Regions from separate parts of the Homo sapiens genome. Here region 2 is linked to region 1. The links are contacts of gene promoters, found by promoter capture Hi-C in human tissues and cell types (Jung and others, 2019). All regions are on one chromosome and are shown on one strand. Each heading gives the region's core, a stretch centred on a gene start or on the middle of the fragment in contact. The rest is flanking DNA. Distances are from core to core; before and after follow the strand shown. Region 1 holds the start of PPP6C (protein phosphatase 6 catalytic subunit). Region 2 has its middle 12 kb from the start of ZBTB43.

Evidence for each region. Contacts are between HindIII fragments. The study calls those that stand out against the background at their distance.
Region 2: a fragment that was not itself captured here is called in contact with the fragment with the promoter of PPP6C in region 1 in 1 of the 25 tissues and cell types used here (dorsolateral prefrontal cortex).

Annotation. Positions count from the first base shown.
Region 1 is chr9:125,188,510-125,191,084 of GRCh38, reverse strand. PPP6C (protein phosphatase 6 catalytic subunit) reads left to right here and starts at 1,282. Exons shown (of 7, transcript NM_002721.5): 1 at 1,282-1,441. The coding sequence starts at 1,367. RefSeq lists enhancers at 1,005-1,084, 387-1,173, 1,174-1,960. The HindIII fragment of the contact is 9,567 bases long and covers 1-2,575 here.
Region 2 is chr9:126,792,152-126,794,726 of GRCh38, reverse strand. No RefSeq gene overlaps it. Among named protein-coding and RNA genes, the nearest start is that of ZBTB43, 12 kb to the left of the region's middle. RefSeq lists an enhancer at 2,219-2,388. The HindIII fragment of the contact is 3,083 bases long and covers 1-2,575 here.

The DNA of each region.
Region 1 (2,575 bases), core at 33-2,532:
TTCATACTTTCAGAGGAGTTACAAGAATAATACAAAGAAGTTCACCCAGATATCTCATTCAGGGTTAGCCAATTGTCCACAAAATATACTTTAGAGAGCAAGAGGATTAATTCCAGGGTCTCTTGAGCAACAAATATTTATTGAGCGCCTGCTACTATTGGATTACATAACAGTCTCTTAACTGGTCTCTTAGCTATAGGCATTGCACCCCCACCCCTAGTCCCATACAGCAGCTCCTTTTACTAATTTATTTTTGAGGAGGATCTCGCTCTGTCGCCCAAGCTGGAGTGCAGTGCCGCGATCTCAGCTCACTGCAACCTCCGCCTCCCAACTCAAGCGGTTCTCCTGCCTCAGCCTCCAGAGTAGCTGGGACCACAAGCACGCACTACCGCGCCAGGCTAATTTTGGTACTTTTTGTAGCTACAGATAGAATAGAGATCTTTGTCTATTTTGTTCACGAAGTACTGCAAGCGCCTTGAGCTGTACCTGGCACATCTTTGTTGCTCAGCAAAGAGTGGTTGGATAAACGAACGCTGAAGGTATGCTAGTACCAGGTACTGTTCTCGGTGCTGGAGTTACAGCAAAAAACTCCCTGCCCTCGTGGGATTCTCACTGGAAGCATGCTTAAGCTTAAGCCATTTTTCAATCTTGACCCCACCATTTTGTTCCCTGTGAGATTTGGGGTGAACTGCAGTTTCCTAGCCTCACTTTCCTATCAATCGTTACGAAGATTAAAAGGAAAAATATCATTTGTATCGCATTTAGCATCAGAAATGCTTTAATAATATTCGTTTCCCTTCCTTTCAGGCTGGAAGACTGGGGCCTGACATCTCTGCCACAGGCTTAGGCGAGGTTTTCACAGGGACTTGGAAAGGTGCAAACGGTTACTACGGCCAGGCTTACCCAATTGTTAAGTGAAGATATTCTGGAGAGTGCTTAAAAGGGTTGGAAAAACAAACCAGTGAGTGGCTAGGACCACCTACTCCGCTGTTTTGCCTCGGAAAAGCCTCGCCGGCTGCCGGGAGGTGAAAGTCTGGAGGAACGGGAGGAAAAGAGAGGGGTGGCTGTCCACAACAGAAAACTACACATCCCAGCACCCCCGCGGCAGACGACTACGGGTCCCAGCAGGTTTCGCGGGGTGGACCGAAGCGGGCTCTCTTGGGGCCTGCAGTCGGGGTTCAGCCAGAGGGGGCGCCGGGCGTACCGACGTAGCGGGGAGAAACGGGTCGCGCTTTAACGGCGCTGCGCAGGCGCCACTCACGGGCCGGACGTGACGCAGGGAAAGTTCCGGCTTCGGCCTCCGCCGCTGCCGCCGCCGCTGCTACAGCCGCCGCCGCCGCTGTTGCCGCGGCTTGTTATTCTTAAAATGGCGCCGCTAGACCTGGACAAGTATGTGGAAATAGCGCGGCTGTGCAAGTACCTGCCAGAGAACGACCTGAAGGTGAGCCCTATTTGCGGGCTCGCCCCTTCCGGCTGTGGGGCGCCCGCCGGCCGGCCCTTCCTTTCTCCAGGACCCCCGCCGGGTATCCAGTCCAGTCGCGGTGGAGGGCCTCCCCCATTGCCAGTCGACCCGGTCCTACCCGGCGTCACGCCGAGGGTCTCGCGAGCCGAGTCGTCGAATGCTGTCCCGGTTGCCTCAGTGGGGATCCCGAGGGATGTCGCGGCCTCTGTCCCAGGGTCGCCCCTTCTGGCCTTCGGGCTGCCCCAGGACCCGCAGCTGTAACAGCTTTATTTAGAAGGCTCGGCTCCCCACCCCATCCCTGGGTCTCCCGCAGTCGGAGCCGAGCCCCCGCGGCAGTGCCCTCGGGATGGGGTCGCCTCCACCGGAGGTGACAGGAGCGCGGAGTGGCCGGCGTCTGACAGGAGATGCCACCGGCTACCGGAACGCGGCCTCAGTGTGTTTAGGTCTCTGAGGAAGGGGAAGGCGGTGGGCCCGAGTGGTTTGGTACTGGCGGGAGCGAACGTCAGGTCGTCCCTCTTCATTGCCACTCCTCCAAATTGCTTTTTAGGATCGTCGGTTTTGCTAATTCAGAGGTGAATCCCGTTTCTGAGTATGTTGTTGAGCTTACTGAAGTGGATAAAGTAGTTGGTTCTCAATAAATACAAATACTTTCTCCTTAACCCCTTCTTAACTCAGTATTTCATTTTCTTCGTTTTCTAAAGGAGGTGAGTTCCTTGTTACTCCTGAGTCCAAGTAAGAGTAAATGTATGTATGGGTAAAGGAATGACTTTGGTATACTGCTTTTCTTTTTTAAAACTTTTTAATTATTATTATTATTATTATTATTATTGTTTTTAACTGAGATAGAGTCTCACTCTGTCACCCAGGCTGGAGTGCAGCGGTGCGATCTTGGCTCACTGCAACCTCCACTTCCCGGGTTCAAGCGATTCTCCTGCCTCAGCCTCCCGACTAGGTGGAATTACAGGCGCCCGTCACGACGCCCGGCTGTTTTGTATTTTTAGTAGAGACGGGGTTTCGCCATGTTGGCCAGGCTGGTCTTGAACTCCTGACCTCAAGTGATCCGCCCGCTTCGGCCTACCAAAGTGCTGGTATTACAGGCGTGAGCCACCGCGC
Region 2 (2,575 bases), core at 57-2,556, 1.6 Mb before region 1:
TTCAGCGCCGATGACTGTGTCCGCCTGCTGTTATTACAAAACAATCCACCGCAAGGCTCAGTGGCTTACAACAGTAATTACCTATTCTCATTTGTGTGTCTGCAGATCAGTTAAGGGCTGGCTGGTTTAAGCTGGGCTCAACTGGGCAGCTCTGCTTCAGGCTGTGGGACCAGCTGGACACCCCAGGAGTTGTGGGGAGCTACTGGAAGAGACACCCTTTTGTTGGATGGTGTGGGAGGATGCGAGGTCAGGAACCATTGCAGCCATTTTATTTCTGTAAGGAGAGAGCCTGGAATTGCAAGAGCCTGTGTGAGGGGGCTGGAAATGAAGTTGACAGCAAGAAAGATATAAAACACAGGTAGGGAAAAGTCAGTGTCTTGGTGAGAATCTGGATCCAGCTTCACCTCACCAGACCCAGGTGAACCAACACATTCCCTTCATTGCTCATCAGTTTGCAATTTTGTTTTTGTTTTTGTTTCTTTACAATCAAGACACTCTTAACTGACACACAGGCTGTGAGGTGGTTGCTCGGGGGAGTGGTTGGAGGAGTCACCCACTCTTTCTTCCAGGGTTCTGGCTTTTGGGACATGTGTGCACATGTCTGGGTAGACATTCTAAGCTGCACAGAACAGAAATGGAGTCTGGCTGATTACAGTAGAAAAAGAATTCACTAAAAGGATCTGATCCCCAAGAGGGCTGGAAAATCGAGCTCTGTGACTATGCAGCCAAGCCGCACCCACAATCAGGCCACAGAACTGGGGTGGCCAGAACACTGCTGCCACCACCATGGCCACCACTTTTGCCAGTGCGGTTGCTGCTGCCAACTGGATCCCCCGTCCCCTCCAGTCTGCACTGCGCTGCCCCTGCTACTTTGGAAGCAGATCTTGCTGCCACCACTGCCCTCATGTGCCACTAGCTGCCGAGTCAGAGTCCTCTGGTTGGCTGAGGCTGGCCAGCGTCTGCTCCCTGGCTGCAAGGGAGGCTGAGGAAGCAACAAACTGGCCCTTTGGGCTTCTACAGTGGGGCGTAGTTTCCGCCTCTCTCCAAGTTTTGGAGAATGGGGAATTCCTCAAACACAGGATGGGGTGTCATGCTAGGGAGTCTCAATACAGGGCATAAGGGATTGAGATCAAATAGAGACAATGGCTTCAGCTTTATTCCTGGTAGATCTAAATTGGAGAATGCAACTGGAACCTGGGGCCAAAATCTTCCCTCCCCGCTCCCAGAACTGAACTTCTTTTCTCTTTTCTTTTCTTTTTTCGTTTTTTGAGACAGAGTCTTACTCTCTCACCCAGGCTGGAGTGCAATGGCACAGTCATGGCTCACTGTAGCCTTGACCTCCCGGGCTCAGGTGATCCTCCCACCTCAGCCCCTTTAGTAGCTAGGTGTGCCATCACCTGCCCAGCTAATCTTTTGTAGAAACAAAAATACAAACACGGGGTTTCCCTGTGTGGCCCAGACTGGTCTCAAACTCCTGCACTCAAGTGATCCATCCACCCTGGCCTCCCAAAGTGCTGAGATTGGGAGTGCTCACAGGCGTGAGCCACCATGCCCAGCCTCCAGAACAGAATTTCTCTCCTGGCTGTAGGAGAGCCCTCTTCCTGGAGCAGGGATGCTCTGCCTTGCTGAGATACTGCTTGACATCGGGAACAGAAACAAGGGACAAGCTGTTGATGAGGGCAGGTCCAGGGGAGGCCAGTGTCTGAGCTGTCACCTGTCCTCTGCCTCCCCACACAGAGGGGCGGAGGGGTAGGATCCTCTAATGCTATTTCCGTTTGAAGATGGAAAGTTCCATCCATTTCCCAAAGAGGAAACAGCACAAAAACATGGTGTGGTGGGGTGAGAGGGGGCATGAAGGGGTCAAGGGGAGGCAAGCTTTCCCAAGAGGTAAAGTCGGTGATGCAAATGAGAACAGTAGACATTTGCACATTAACTGTATAAGGATGCATATTCTTTTTTTTTTTCAAGACGGAGTCTTGCTTTGTTGCCCAGGCTGGAGTACAGTGGCGTGATCTCAGCTCACTGCAACCTCCACCTCCCAGGTTCAGGCGATTCTTCTGCCTCAGCCTCCCGAGTAGCTGGGACTACAGGTGTGTGCCACCATGCCCAGCTAATTTTTTGTATTTTTAGTAGAGATGGGGTTTCACTATGTTAGCCAGGAATTTCTCAATCTCCTGACCTCGTGATCTGCCTGCCTTGGCCTCCCAAAGTGCTGGGATTATACGTGTGAGTCACCATGCCCGGCCAGAATGCATATTCTTAACATCTACACAAAGCTATGCACTCTCATTTGTCCTTAGATATTGGCTCCTCTATGTGTATTTTTTTGTCCTGCCATTTTTTTTTTTTTTGAGACAGCATCTTGCTCTGTTGTCCAGGCTGGAGTGTAGTGGTGCAATCTCAGCTCACTGCAACCTCCTCCTCCCAGGTTCAACTGATTCTCCTGCTTCAAGTCTCCCAATTAGGCTGCTTCACCATGCCTGGCTAATTTTTAATAGAGACAGGGTTTCACCATGTTGGCCAGGCTGGTCTCAATCTCTTGACCTCAAGTGATCCACCCACCTTGGCCTCCCAA